Regions from separate parts of the Homo sapiens genome. Here all the other regions are linked to region 1. The links are contacts of gene promoters, found by promoter capture Hi-C in blood cells and fetal thymus (Javierre and others, 2016). All regions are on one chromosome and are shown on one strand. Each heading gives the region's core, a stretch centred on a gene start or on the middle of the fragment in contact. The rest is flanking DNA. Distances are from core to core; before and after follow the strand shown. Region 1 holds the start of HPSE2 (heparanase 2 (inactive)). Region 2 holds the start of PYROXD2 (pyridine nucleotide-disulphide oxidoreductase domain 2). Region 3 overlaps HPSE2 (heparanase 2 (inactive)). Region 4 overlaps HPSE2 (heparanase 2 (inactive)).

Evidence for each region. Contacts are between HindIII fragments. The CHiCAGO score rates a contact against its expected background, and 5 or more counts as called.
Region 2: the fragment with the promoter of PYROXD2 here is called in contact with the fragment with the promoter of HPSE2 in region 1 in 3 of 17 cell types (megakaryocytes, M1 macrophages and total CD4 T cells); the score reaches 6.5 in megakaryocytes.
Region 3: a fragment that was not itself captured here is called in contact with the fragment with the promoter of HPSE2 in region 1 in 1 of 17 cell types (M1 macrophages); the score reaches 5.9 in M1 macrophages.
Region 4: a fragment that was not itself captured here is called in contact with the fragment with the promoter of HPSE2 in region 1 in 1 of 17 cell types (M1 macrophages); the score reaches 5.0 in M1 macrophages.

What each region holds. Positions count from the first base shown.
Region 1 is chr10:99,233,726-99,237,482 of GRCh38, reverse strand. It overlaps HPSE2 (heparanase 2 (inactive)), which reads left to right and starts at 1,631. Exons shown (of 12, transcript NM_021828.5): 1 at 1,631-1,970. The coding sequence starts at 1,681. RefSeq lists enhancers at 53-553, 554-1,054 and a silencer at 3,202-3,321. The HindIII fragment of the contact is 7,443 bases long and covers 1-3,757 here.
Region 2 is chr10:98,412,854-98,416,610 of GRCh38, reverse strand. PYROXD2 (pyridine nucleotide-disulphide oxidoreductase domain 2) reads left to right here and starts at 1,429. Exons shown (of 16, transcript NM_032709.3): 1 at 1,429-1,602. The coding sequence starts at 1,476. It overlaps HPS1 (HPS1 biogenesis of lysosomal organelles complex 3 subunit 1), which reads left to right. Exons shown (of 20, transcript NM_000195.5): 20 at 1-413. The HindIII fragment of the contact is 3,850 bases long and covers 1-3,623 here.
Region 3 is chr10:98,624,414-98,628,170 of GRCh38, reverse strand. All of the region lies in intron 7 of HPSE2 (heparanase 2 (inactive)), which reads left to right. Among named protein-coding and RNA genes, the nearest start is that of HPS1, 180 kb to the right of the region's middle. The HindIII fragment of the contact is 2,648 bases long and covers 376-3,023 here.
Region 4 is chr10:98,643,624-98,647,380 of GRCh38, reverse strand. The region is part of intron 6 of HPSE2 (heparanase 2 (inactive)); the gene reads left to right. Among named protein-coding and RNA genes, the nearest start is that of HPS1, 200 kb to the right of the region's middle. The HindIII fragment of the contact is 1,036 bases long and covers 1,284-2,319 here.

The sequences.
Region 1 (3,757 bases), core at 382-2,881:
GGCTTTTCAGGGAACTTCAGTTGAAGGTCATCTATTCCAGCTGTTTTCAGATTTGTTAATCCTGGTCTGGGTGGAGGTAAGAGGATACAGGTTGCTATTACAGCGTTTGCTGGGCTTTAAGACTAACCCTTGTCCATCCACTTCTGGGGAAAACCCTTGCTCTGCATTTTAGGGTTTTGCTTGTTTGATACCAAGGAGGGCCCTGGACGCTTCTGCGTTTCTGACTGCCCGCACTACATAAAGTAGTTCCCTTCATCTGCCAAGTAGAAGTCCCATTTTGTCTCAGAAAGAAGCCGAAAGTGGGGCCCAGCAATGTGACTGCAGCAAACTGTGCCTGATCCCTTTCCCGCGCTTCAGGATAGGACCTAGAGTTCAATTTGCAAGCTGTTGTGGGGTGGAAGCTCAATGAGCAGCGGCGGGTCGTGCATCACAGCGGCTTCCGGCTGTTATTCCCCATCCAGGGCTATGTGACTCTGGTTTTGACTGGGGGCCGAGATGGAAACCCGAAAGTGTCACTATGGTCCCATCTGGCACTGTAAAGGCGCACTTCCCTGCAGGAGGGCTAAGTATAGGATTGACCTCCAGGAGGGTCTGGAGGGGGGACTCTACCTGTGCAGCAGAATAGAGTGGCCAAGAAGTGGCACAGTTGGACGCAGAGCCGCCCTGACTATCCAAGCACAGCTCAGGTAGCTTCGACTTGGCCAAAGCCAGCATGTATTGACGCTCCCAAGACGCTTATTCCTCGGTTGCGGGAAGAGCAGAGCAGAGCGAGGGCGCATGTCCCTTTTGGCCCTCGGATCGGAAAAGCTGCTTGACCAGGTCACTATGTTTTTCCTTCTTGCTACTCTTTGCCCTATGGAGGTCAGAGGATGCTTCGGTGTGGCTATCCAACGCGTCACAGAGATCAGGGCTCCTCTTCGGGGAATGTCCTTCAGGGCTCTATGCTTTGACAGGAATCACCGCCTCAAGACCCCTCTGCAACTTAACCGCCCTTGGTATTGCTGCTTCAACCAGAAAAGGGCCCTGAGCGGACGAAGTGCCTGACGCTGTCAGGAGAAACAAGCGTGCTGTCGGTGGGAACTCTATCCCAGCGCGTCCCGGGTTGGCGCTGGGGCTTTCGGGTCGGAGTCGGAGCTTGAACCGCCCTCCAGAGCCTCTCAGGGAAGGACGTAAAAACGAGACCCTTTGCTCTGTACCCAGACGGTACAACGGCATGGTTTGGATTCCTCCCTCTGCTTCCTGACCCTAGAGGGTTAAATTAGGAGGGTACAACGCCACCCTTTTCTCCTCCTTCCCGCCTGCTCCCCTCCCCTTACCTTTAAAAAGTTAAAAAATGTCTGCAGTAGAAATCTCTTAAAGGGGCGGTGCCGGTGTACGAGTTCTCTTGGCAAGAGTCACGGGGAAGGCTGGCTAGGGGCGTGAGTTCGCTCCACCAGCACCAAAACACTGAAAAAAAAAATTAAAAAAAATTAAAAAAAAAAAAGAAAAAAACAAAACGAGCGAGCGAGCGAGCGAGAGAGAGAGAGAGCGGGAGAGAGAGAGAGTGTGTGTGTGTTGGGGGGGTGGTGGGAGGAAGGGAAAAAAAGGGGGGAAAAAGGCGGACAGACACACACTTTAGATAAGGACAATTAGTCACTAGCGAGACCCAGTAGGAAGAGAGGTTTAAATCAGAGGGATTGAATGAGGGTGCTTTGTGCCTTCCCTGAAGCCATGCCCTCCAGCAACTCCCGCCCCCCCGCGTGCCTAGCCCCGGGGGCTCTCTACTTGGCTCTGTTGCTCCATCTCTCCCTTTCCTCCCAGGCTGGAGACAGGAGACCCTTGCCTGTAGACAGAGCTGCAGGTTTGAAGGAAAAGACCCTGATTCTACTTGATGTGAGCACCAAGAACCCAGTCAGGACAGTCAATGAGAACTTCCTCTCTCTGCAGCTGGATCCGTCCATCATTCATGATGGCTGGCTCGATTTCCTAAGGTAAGGCAGGGGTTTCGATGGATCATTTAAAATTTTTTAGTAACACCCCCTCAAGCCCTTCCTATCCCCCATTCCAAAGGGGAAAGAAGAAAATAAGCCAAGCAGATCTCTCAAAGAGAAGAAAAGAGGTTTTCCTTCTCCTGGATTGTGTGCTGTGAGGCTGTAACTAGTGATTGAGAAAAGCAATGTTTTCTATTAAGATGCACATGTTTGCAATGCAGAAGGCATTTCAGAAACTTATCAGTTATGACTGAAAAAATGTTGTGCTTACATATATCCACAATTAGCCTTCCCGTCTACTTCTGAAAAAGAAACAAGAGGTTCAGAGCAGTTACAAAAGCGAAGAAAAGGTCTCAAACAACAAAGAGCTGAAAGGAATGGGTATGTGTGTGTGTGTGTGTGTGTGTGTGTATGTGAGACAGGAGAGTGTGTGTGTGTGAGTGTTCAAGCGGGATTGCACGAAACTGGAATTTTCCACGGAAAGATCGTTTCGTCAGTTCTCTCCCACTCTCAGAAAACGAATTTAAGCAGAGGCTTGAGTGGTGGGCAAGTTGGATCGGAGTTAAAATTTTTTATTTTATATCCTCCGCTGTCATTTCCAGACTTCAGGACTTTGTAAGGCGCTTTTTATAGACGGAATGCCCCCCTCCCCCCGCCAGTTCCTCCTCCTTAAATCTCCTGCGGTAACTGCACAGTTTAGCTTTTCTTTAAAGGAAAAAAAAAATCCTCGCTGGGGTCACAGCGTTATAAGGGAAGCGGTAAGAGTCCTAGAAATACTCCAGGGAGGCTTCGGAGATCTGAACTCCGCACCAGCAGATTAGCAAACCCGGAGGTTTGTGATCCCCTTTGCTCTAGGGCTTGTAATCTAATTGGGCTCACACTCTTCCCGGGTTGTTGCAGTTTGGCAGTTAGGCAACTGCGATCCCTTCCCATCAGGGACAGAGTTGCAGTGTAAAATAAGAAATAAATCCTCTGCAATGTCGAATCCAAGTGTTGAGTTTTTAAAAATTCCCTACAAGTTGGAGCCTCAGCTGTGGGTTCCCCTCGAAGAGCCCTCAGCGCTCTCAGTCCCACTTTGCCCCGAGGCCAGGTCCGTTGTGCGTCCTTCGTATTTTTCACTCCTTGCGAAATTCGAGTTTTGCTTCTTGAGGTGCGCCCGCCTCTCAGCTCTTGGGGTTGTCCCCCTGGCCCGGGTCGGGTCTGCGGACGCGGCAGGTAGCGGGAGGCGCCACGTGGAGCGCTCCTTCCACGTGGAGGAAAGGTAGCCGGAGGACTGAGAGGCTGTAGCTGCCCTTGCCGAGGCCGTTTCGGTTCCTGTTGGTGCGGTTGCCGCGAGGGCGGAACAGCCAGCTCCGCGCGGCCCAGCTTCCTCTTCGAAAGCTCTTTCGTGCAGCAGAGCGCGTCTATGAGCTCGTCCGAATGTAGGGTGCAACGGAGTTTTCCGCAACGCTTGTCCCACTTTCATTGAACTCCTTCAGCTGCGCAGACCCCCTTTCCCCCACCAGCTTTCTTTCTTTTTTTAAAAAATCTGCCTGTTCGCCTAATGCTTTCCTGCCTCAGAAAAGAGTCTGGAAGGCAGATTTTCGGGGAAGAAGTCCTGGCGGGGCGCATTCGCATTGGCTGTGCAGGCTTCTGGATGAAAGGTTGTTGGAACTGCCCTTTCCCCAGGACCGGATTCGCGCGGACGTCTCCTTTGCCACAGTAGGCCCACGCGACGCCCTGACTGTGCCTGTCCTGGAGTGCGGTCCCGGAGACTTCTGCCAAACGACCATTCTGGTTACAAGACC
Region 2 (3,757 bases), core at 180-2,679, 820 kb after region 1:
CATGCAGGAGCCTCGCCTTCTGTGTCTTTAGTCTTGAGCCAAAATTTGCTCAAAGACTGATCTCTTCCTTGCAGGGAACAGCTTTGGGGCTGGGGGAACTAGAACCCACATGTTGGTCTAAACCCTGAGAAGGTGGCAGTGAGGAAGTATCCCCTCAGGTGACTGGATCTGTGTTCCTCCTTAACATCATCTGATGGAATGGCAATGAAAAGCGTGGATTGTGGAAAATACAGAAAAACATAAAGGAAAAAACTCCAATCCCCTGAGCCCACCACTGTTCAGGACCCCTGCTTTTGTCACCTACTATTTCCCTTTAGTTTTTAGCAGCGGCTGGATGTGATATGTCTAGTTTAACCAGTCCCCTTGATCTTTCTATATAATAAATAACACAGGAGTGAACATCCTGAATCAGATCTTAGCAGAGATGCTCACATGCGGGGTAACTGTCCATGGTGTGTGGAGGGGTCCTCGGAACCCCCTCTTAGGATCATCTCCACATACTCTCCCAGTTCTGAGATTCGTTACCAATAGCAGGTTTCCGTCACACTGCGATATCAGAGCAGTGCAGGAACTCTCCGCTCCAAGGGGTTTTTTCCTCCTAGGGGAACACTCTGCTAAGTAATGGGCAGAGAACAAAGGGGCTCCTAATTCAAGGCAGGCCTAAGGGAGGGTCAGAAAGAACTTTAGCTGGAGGTATTTACAGATGTGACCTCGAATCCTTGGGGATTCTTGGAAAATGGGCAAGGTGCCAAAAGAGGAGAACTGGCCAGGCCTTCAAAACTAAAACACCAGAGAATTACAGACAGCGAACTTGCCCCTAAGCCCTCGTTGTGGGTTTGTGTTTGAGCATTTAGGAGAGGACTCCAGTGCTCCTCAGCGACAGACACAGCTGCCTCTGCGGTGTCTGAAGGCCCTGGTCGTGGTGACGCTAGATGGCCGCCCTGGGCGCCTCCTGTGGGCGTAGAGGCATCACCACTCTGCACTGGCAGACTCAGCATGGAGTTGGAGCAGAGTCTGACACGAGCACTTGCCATCCCAGGCGTTTCAGTTCTGACTGAGAAGGTAGATGCACAGGGGAGGAGAGGGCCCTTTCGAGCTCCACTCTGCCTCCACCACTCATTCCCTAACCCCGCAGCCTCAGCGCCCTCATCTGTAAAATGGGGAGTTTTGCCTACAGGGTTCAGCACAATGCCAGCCTGACATAGGAACCCCAGTGGATTGTCAGTTTTGCCATTATCCCCTGCATCCTGGAGGTGACACCGCCTGGTTAATAGGCAACACTCCCGACGGCCCAGCACAGCCCCAGGGCAGCAGGAGGCTGGCCTGTGGCCAAGAATGCATGGTGGAGGGGGCCTGGAGGGGGACTGCAGCTCCTCCTCTTCCTGCTTCCTCCCTGCTCCACCCCGTGCCTAGGGCAGCACAAAAGCCAATCGCTAGCAAACTCCCTGCCTAGCAAGGCCCAGCCTGGGGCAGAAATGGCTGCAAGTGGCCGAGGTCTCTGCAAGGCTGTGGCCGCCTCTCCCTTCCCGGCGTGGAGACGAGATAACACGGAAGCCAGGGGAGGTCTGAAGCCTGAGTATGATGCGGTGGTGATAGGAGCAGGTAAAGTGGTAAAGCAGGCCGGGCCAGAGCTGAGGGGCGGGAAGACAGCCCTGCTCAGAGCTTGGTGGGGAGGGGGAGGGGGAGCCAAGCCCCACTGCTCTCTCCTCTGGCATAACCCAGCCAGAAGTTTATACGCTAGCAGGGGCTGCAATGGAAAGCCCTTCCATCTGGCAGGCAGGCACCTGGGATTCCGGTGCTGGCTCTGCTGTGTGGCCTGGGGCAAATGCTTGCCTTCTCTGGGCTTGGATCTTCCCATGGAGAATGACAGGAAGACTAGGTGAGCTCAGGGGTTTCCCTATATCTCTTGCAAAGTGACCTAGTTTCCACCACATTCTCAGCCTATGGTTTGTAAGGGTTGGAAAGAGCCCTGGGCCAACAGACAAGTGAAATCCAGCACCCCGCCCCCTCAGTGCCCTGAGTTCTGGTCACCACTACCTTACCACTGAGGCCACCCCTCGTCACAAGAAACTGCAGTCATTTCATAAAGGCCAGTTAGGATAAAACAGAACTGAGTCCCAGAGTTCCTACTGCGTGTCTGCAGAGGGAGATGGACCCCATTGCCTTGCAGCTCTGGGACATTTGGGGATCTGCAGTGATCTGCCACACTTTGCCAACCCCTGGGCTCAGAGTATCACAGTCTACTGGGTGCTAGGGGAAGAGGCAGGCCCAGGACCAGGTGGTCTTTCCTTAGTGCCTTCCTTTCACACTTGCAGAGGGCCCCAAATGCATGATTGCCAACTGGGTCTATACAGAGATAATGACGGGACCGAAAGCAGACGGCACTCAACATGCAGCTTTGAGGGCATGCCTTCATTTTCATATGTACTAGAGCAGTTGCGAGCTGGTAGATACTCAACACTCACCTCTCCAGGGAAAAATGTGTGATGTATGTGTGTGTGTACATGTATATATATGTATATATACACACATATATGTGTATATATATGTATATGTGTTACGTACATATATATACACATATACACATGCTTATTTTAAATATTGAAATAAAAGATACACTGCACACAATTTTACAAATAAAGATACAATACTCTCAATTTAAATGCAGTCTACCCGAGTGATTCTTACCAAAGGCTTTCTTTGATTTTTGCCAAACTCAGTAGCCAACCTATAGTTGCAAATGACAAATGAGGGTAGCTCCAAAGAGAACGGTGCTCCATATTTTCTGTAAAGAGTAGGATGATCGTGAAACAAATGAAACAACAAAGATTTATGTCCCAACCTTACTCCTTTATTTTTTAAAATTTATTTTTATTTTATTTATTTATTCATTTATTGAGATGGAGTCTTGCTCTGTTGCCCAGGCTGGAGTGCAGCGGCGCAATCTCGGCTCACTGCAACCTCCGCCTCCTGGGTTCAAGCGATTCTCTTGCCTCAGCCTCCCGAGTAGCTGGGACTACAGGCGCCCACCACCACGCCCGGCTAATTTTTGTATTTTTAGTAGAGACGGGGTTTCACCATGTTGGCGAGGCTGATCTCAAACTCCTGGCCTTGTGATCCACCTGCCTCAGCCTCCCAAAGGGCTGGGATTACAGGTGTGAGCCACTGCGCCCGGCCTCCTTCTTTAAATGACAGGAATGATGTTACTCAAATAAGATAATATTGTTCTAATACTAGAATATTTCCTTCAATTTTTGTGCTATTTATTCATGCTATAACAGCTAACACTGTTAGGTTTAATCTGCATTATTAGCATTTTCCCATCACTTTCTTAAGCCTGACCACAAAAAATAAATTCAGCCCTTCTGTGTAATATTTGCTGATGACAGTGGTGTAAATACTCCCACCATAGCCTTTTCTGTTACCAAGATGAGGTTGCTCAATGTGATTTAGGAGAGATACCCAGTAGCACATCATTGTATAGTGTGTCCACCATGCAGATATGTACATAGAGGCCAGTGACTGCCAGGGCATGGGCAACAGTCAAATGTAGTAAAACAAATAGGAGGTAGTGTGTTTTGAGTATTTATTACCTTTGTTTTTAATTTATTTAATTGTAAGCTTATATAATTTAGTTTATATCAATGGCTGTTTGACAGCCGGCTCACAAACTCCCCGGGCTGGTGGGAGCCATCTCCAGCACCTCACTTAGCCTCAGAGAAGCCCCCTGCCTCCTTCCGTGCTCAGCCACAGCTCA
Region 3 (3,757 bases), core at 450-2,949, 610 kb after region 1:
TGCCCCAAACAGTAAATACTCAGAAAATATTTGTTGGTTTGTACTGACTACTCCTAGAACCTTTAACATTAATAATTTCTAGAAATATTTCCCCAAAAAACATTTCATATAACTGGTTTAGTTTTTGTATCAAAGTTGTTCCTCACTGTGTATATTTGTTCATGTGGCTTGACAGGAATTACCCCTGTGCTGAGAATGGATAAATGAACTACTCTGAATGATAATTATGTTTGTGTGAGTTATCCATGTGCATTTTAAATTCTAAACTGGCCTTTCCTGCTGCTTAGCATGCATCTGGGCTATTACCTATCACCACAAGTCCTACGTCTGAAGGAAAAACAACCAACTCTGATGTTATTCATTCAAACACAAGCTTATGTGCCTTGGACAAGGAGAGTGGTCTAGGTAATATTTTGGTTTACACCTCTAAGTGCTTACTATATGCCAGACACTACTTCAACTGCTTTATAAATATTATATAATTTAAATATCATAAAATCCTCTAAGGCAGATATGATTCTGATTTTACAGCTGAGAAAATTGAAACACAGACAGGTAATACAACTCATTCAAAGTCATGCAGTAAGTAAATAATAGAACCAGAATTCAAATGCAGGCAATCCATCTCCAGAGTCCATGCCCCTAACTGTTCCTCAATTTTAGATTGTTTCCTTTCAAATCTCCCTGCAAGTCAGAAGAGAATTCTGATTAACTTTTTTATTTTTTATTTTTTAAGAGACTCTCATGCAGGCTGGAGTGCAGTAGTGTGAACAAAACTCACTGCCTCCTGCCTCAGCCTCCTGAGTAGCTGGGACTACAGGCACAAGCCACCATGATTGGCTAATTTTTTGTTTTTCTTTTTTGAGACAAGGAATTTAGCTGTGTTGCCCAGGCTGGTCTCAAACTCCTGGCCTCAAGTGATCCTCCTACCTCAGCCTCCCAAGTAGTAGGGCTACAGGCGTAACTTTTATTTACACAGAGTCTATGTCCTTGAAGGGTCTTGTAGACACAGTATTTTATAAATCCAACCGTTTTCTGGAATCAAGTCCTCACTTAAAGGAGCTAGAGTTTGAACTCCTTTTGAAAAATAATCATCTCGGCCGGGTGCGGTGGCTCATGCCTGTAATCCCAGCACTTTGAGAGGCTGAGGTGGGCGGATCACGACGTCAGGAGATTGAGACCGTCCTGGCTAACACGGTGAAACCCCATCTCTACTAAAAATACAAAAAATTAGCTGGGCGTGGTGGTGGGCACCTGTAGTCTCAGCTACTCAGGAGGCTGAAGCAGGAGAATGGCGTGAACCCAGGAGGGGGAGCTTGCAAGTGAGCCGAGATTGCACCAGTGCACTCCAGCCTGGGCAACAGAGCGAGACTCCGTCTTGAGAAAAAAAAAAAGAAAAATAATATCTCATACAAATCACCCCTCTGAGTTGGGCATGCCACCATCCAACTAAGTACAGTAGGTTCTTGAATAATTTCATTTCATTTAACATCATTTTATTATAATATTGATGGAAAAAAAATCAATTCCCAGCTGGGGCCACTGTCTGTTTGGGTTTTCTCCGGATACTCCTGCAAATATGTAGACTGCATTAGGTTTCTTGGGTGTCTAAATGGTCCCTGTCCAAGTGAGTATGGGCGTGGGTATGAGTGGCCCTGCAATGGAATGGTAACCTGTCCATGGCTGGTTCTCACCTTGCACTCTGAGCCTCTGAGATAGGCTCTGGCTACTCTCAACCCTGAACTGGTATAAGCGGGTTGGAAAATAAATGAATGAATGAATAAAAATTATTGTAAAATAAAAATTTGTAAAGTCTACAATAATTATACAAATGTACAATAAACGATGTGGCACTAAAGCACACAACAAGTCTGTCATATTTGTGATTGTTTTTGAACTTCCTGGTGGTAGGAGGTGCTCCTTTTTGCTTTGCAAACAAATTCCTTGATTTAACCCCCCACCTCCATGACTACCGCCACTCACTGATTCACCAAAAATTGGGTAAGTAATTTTCTTACTTGTTTTTATTCATCTTTTTTCTTTTTTCTTTTTCTTTTTTTTTTTTGAGACGGAGTCTCGCTCTGTCGCCCAGGCTGGAGTGTAGTGGTGCGATCTCGGCTCACTGCAAGCTCCTCCTCCCAGGTTCACGCAGTTCTTCCGCCTCAGGCTCCCAAGTAGCTGGAACTACAGGCACCCGCCACCACACCCAGCTAATTTTGTTTTTGCATTTTTAGTAGAAACGGGGTTTCACCGTGTTAGCCAGGCTGGTCTCTATCTCTTGACCTTGAGATCCGCCCACCTCGGCCTCCCAAAGTGCTGGGATTACAGGTGTGAGCCACCACGCCCGGCCTATTCATGTGTTTTAAATGTGTATATAGATCACACTTATTTCAGTGATTAGTATGAAAAGTTTTGGGGTCTTTATTTAGAAATTCGGTGATGTTTTTGTGACCAGAAATATGTCATAGGAACTTAATTCTTATTAGTATCATTTAGCCTATAGCAACATTGGTTATATTATACGTTCTTTTGCTTAAAGTTGCCGTTTCCAAGGACCTATTGATGACTTTAAGTGAAGACTTATTGTACTTACAGCAAACATCCTCAAGTGATAAATGTGGAAATACATGATTGTTTCTTTTCTTAATATCAGAATATTATAACGAGCTTGATAACACATAAAATCCTTCTGGTATCCAAATCACCTTGTATGGTAATTGACCTTTAACACTTCTGAGGTTATTGGATTCCATACATAAATTACCTGCTAAGCAAAGCACAATTTTCCTTTTCCTTCTCAGATCAAGGAGAAAACCCCAGGCCTGATATCCTGAGATTTGGCAAATAAGCATGTTGCTCTTCTCTAGATCTTTCATGTTGTAATAGGTTTTCATTTTATGTTTTTCCTGATCTCTAAGGTCGTTTTTGCAGTCAGCATATTGCTTCCAATTCTTTGATCAGGTTTTAGTCGCCCTTTATCAGGTCACATGACTTCCTTAAGGAGTAGCAGTTTACTGTAAGCTTGTGCAAGGGCAGGTATGGAATTGCATTAACTTCTTTGTGTTACACACAGTCTCCTGTGAAGCACTTACTCTGTGCCAGGCATTCTGATAGGAAGTAAATACAAAAGTGAATAAAAGTATTCCCTGCCTTCAAAGAGCTAATGGTTCAAGGTTTCTAGGAAATTTCCTGAATTTCTTACTTGGATCGAAAATGGTAGTTCAGAATCCTACCACCAAACCGTAAGAATAATTGGCACTAGTTCCTCTGAATTCATGCATCACCGTAGAAGGACCCACATAAATGTTTATCTGCTAGTTCTGTGCTCCTTTTCACTAACTCTCAGGATCTTCCTGTGATTGGCCTAGTGTATGTGTCTTTGGCCTTTGACAAGGAAAGATCCTTAACACAATCCTATCAGGTATTATTCCAGCTTACATGTGAGGAAATTGAAGCTCGAAGTGGTTATAAAATAATAAAACTTTAATTTGTATATCATTTTACAGTTTTTATCATTTTACAATTAAAATGATATACAAATAACTGTATCATGATACAGTTTCATTATGTATATATGATCTCATAGCAGCTGCAGGGATCTTTACATAAGTCAGATCAGATCACTTTCTTGGTTAAATCCCTCCAATAGCTTTCCATCACACTCAGAATAAAAATACTCCTTTCTTCTCTGACCTCATTTTTAAATATTTCACTCCCTTACTTTCTACACTCCAGATAGTCTTCTTTTGGTTCTAAA
Region 4 (3,757 bases), core at 552-3,051, 590 kb after region 1:
TAATAAAGGGCAAAGGTTTTTCTTTTTAAAGTAAAGGGCCAGGTAAACAAAACCAGCTGCCCCTGGAGCCAACAAACTCTCCTCATTAAATGTTTTAAAAGCCTAATGGGCATAAGTGGCTAATTGTAGTACAATCCTGAAGACTGAATCTAGGGGCCTGATGAAGGGGGTCAGTGGGACGGGAATGGGGTTAAAACTTGGCTGACAGAGACAGGAAGGAGGTGAGCTCTGCTCCTGGCAGAGGACCTCTAAATGGCCAGAATGAAATTAAAATAAGAGTAAGATGCTTTGACTGGGAGTCTGTAATCTTGCTAACAGTATCCCTGTGAGATGGGCTTGGATGTCTCATTTGGAGCAATTTTAAGTTTAAATGCTAGTTGAATAGGATCTGGAGTACAGGTTTATTAAAAAACTAATTAGGGGAAATTTTATGTTTATTTACTATGAAAAACTGGAAGAGTATGCAGCAAAATGTTGCAATGAGCTTCTCTAGGTGTTGTGCTTATTATACTGTAGGTGATTTTCCATTTTCCTATTTCTATTTTGTTCATGTTCATTCTCTAATTCGTCTACAATGAGCATTTAGTTCTTTTGTAATAAAAATAAAGGGCAACACCAAATAAAATAAGATGAAGATTATTGTACTGGAACTAAAATGTAAAATTAAGGGGGACAGGAGAGTTGGTGAATACATTGATAAGTGGTTCCTTTTACTTTGTATAGTCTGCTATCTTTGCCACTTCCCCAGAGATATGCTTGATATGACCTGCCAATCTAGAGGTAGGAATGAATTGCTGGCATTGGGTGAGACAGACCTTTTGATGATGTATTAATACAAAAGTTTCAACTTCATTACCTTTGTGATAGTTCCCAGAAAGGTTATTTCTACACAGCCTTTCTTGGCTTTGGTTTTTAGTGGAACAGCTCGACGACTTGTGGTATGATCTTAAGTGATGCTGAATTTCAAGAGAGCTTGGAGGATGACCATGATATACCTAAAAGTGTCAGTCTAGGTAATTCTAGACCATTCAGCCAGGGTTTTTTTAAAAAAAAAAAAAGAAAAAAGAAAAAAAGAAATCACCATTATCATCATTTTTAGCAATTTATTCTTATAAAATGGTCACCACAGACTACTCCATCTCCTTCATGCCCAAATATAAATGATATATTTATATTGGACCTATCACCACATGCAACTACCATCAGTGAACCAAAGCTCTGTAACTGGGAAGAAGCTTTCAAATAGCCACGGATTGTTGATGCTGAATGTTTTCTTAGAAGCTTCACATTTACAATGGGTAAGTACAGTAAGTTAGTTGTCCAAGCATATCTAAGAAAAAGGTTTAGGCATTGATAAATTCATACCCTATGGGTTTTTCTTTGTTTGTTTGTTTTTGTTTTGTTTTGAGACCTAGTCTTGCTCTGTTGCCCAGGCTGGGGTACAGTGGCACAATCTCGGCTCACTGCAAGCTCCGCCTCCCGGGTTCACGCCATTCTCCTGACTCAGCCTCCGGAGTAGCTGGGACTACAGGCGCCCCCCACCACGCCCCGGCTAATTGTATTTTTAGTAGAGACGGGGTTTCACCATGTTAGCCAGGATGGTCTTGATCTCCTGACCTCATGATCCGCCCGCCTCAGCCTCCCAAAGTGCTGGGATTACAGGCTTGAGCCACCACGCCTGGCCATACCCTATGGTTAAATGATCCCCTCTCTTAAAAGTGATACTGAATTCTGGATGACCAAAGTTCATATTTCCATAGTACAATATAAATGTGGGTTTAAGTTTGCAAATGAAAGTTGCTGAAACTTCTCAGTATAATGTGAGGATTCCTTTGACATTCAAATGTGAATTGGACTCAGACTGAAGTTATTAAAAAGATGCTGTGATCATCAGGCTAGAGGAGGAAGGGGTCCTTAGCTGGGTCAAAGGTAGAGGCAATGCCCAGGGCCATATTTTAGAAGCATTTTGAAGGGTCTCTGACATCTCTGTTAATTTCCCTTATTCTCTTGAAGAGTTCATCTGCAGCCATGGCTTTGGCCATTACTTACAACCTGAAAAAGACCCCCACGTCAACATTTCTTGTCTCAACTTTTCTCTGTACCTCTTTCTTATATCCCCAGCTACGTGGTATATAGTTCTTTCTTGATATTCTGTATATTTTTGATATGTCAGACAGTATCTTTCATCTCTCTAAACAAATTGTATTCCTGTATGACTAACCTACATCTCTTTGGCAACAGTGTTCTCCAAGGCAATCTCTCTTATATGTTGATGGTCATCAGTGACTCCCTTCCTCTCTTTTACCCTCTACAGAAGCTTTATTTGTTCTTCCTTCATCTCTGCTTGCTTTCACTTTTCTTGTTCCCTCCCTTATTTAGACCCAGATCATTTCTTGCCAGCACTATTGAGATAAAATAACTTTATTTATTGGTTTCCATGCCTGTATCTCCTCCCGCTCCAATCCAATTCACAGCCCACGGAAATAGCCCAAGATTACCTGAGAATGATTGGATACAGCTTGTAAGGGTAAAACTGGGGACAAGAATAGGCTAAACTGCTTAAGCCAAGGTTGCTGGATTTCATCTCCCATGTATCACATGAAGGAGCAATTGGACCATTTCTGGGTTCAAGAAGATATAATGCTAGCCATTGAGAGGAAGTAACAGGGATCAGATTTCAGCACCATGTCAGAAGAGCTTTTCGTCAATTAGAGCTGTGATGCAGTGAAGCAGTCCTAGTAGTGTATGACAGTGAATTCTTGTCCCTGGATATGTTCAAGCAAAGCCAGAAAATCACTTCTAAGGGATATTGTAGCAAGCTTACATGCTTTAGGCCAGCTGACCAGTAAGGTCTTTTCAAACTCCAAATTTTTACAACATAATCACAGCCATCTCCATCCCTGCCTCTGCCTCACACCTGCTGGGAATCCAGCATCTGTTCTTGCTGCTCTACACTTTCCTCACTCCAAGTTCTACAGCGGATAGCATGCTCTCCTCCAGAGGGATGCTCCCCTGCCCATCCCATCCCATGGCCTTTCAGTGTAAGTTTCTGCTGCCTTGGGCCCTTAAGTAATCTGAACAGAGTAGATCTGGTTATTGAATAGCTTTTATATGACAGGTCCCGTGCCCAGCATTTTTGCTTATGTGATCAGTACACCAACCCTGTGAAAATATTGTAGATTTGGGTTTTTTAAAACCCACTTTAAAGAAGGGATTGAACCAAGGTTTTCTAACTCCAGATTCTGGGTACTTGAGAAAAGGAAGGAGGAAAAGAATGAAGGGACCCTCAACCATGGGCCACAGATTGGGGTAGGCTAGGGAGGTTCTTCACAGGAAATCCTACCTACTGAAAAATTACATCTGGAATTTTTATCTCAATAGGTATTAAACTATGTGTGTTGCTAACAAAAATTATAAATACTGATGTGTAATGTAGTTACTGGGAACTAATTGAGAAAAGAGGAAAGTGTAATATATTTGATTAAATAATAAAAGAATAATTACAATGCATTACTTGTCAAATTCCTGGTCACCATATAATATAGTAGCAAGTATTCATGTCCTCAAATGTGTGTTAGATTAGCATTGCATAAATTATTTTTAATTTTAACACTACTCTGTCTCAACATGCCTGGCTTTCATGTAGTATGCCATGTATCTGATCTTTTTTTCAAAAATCAGAGGTGCTAATTAAGTATCTGATCTTTTTCCAAAAATCAGAGGTGCTAATGAAGAAGTACTACTATGAACAGGTTAT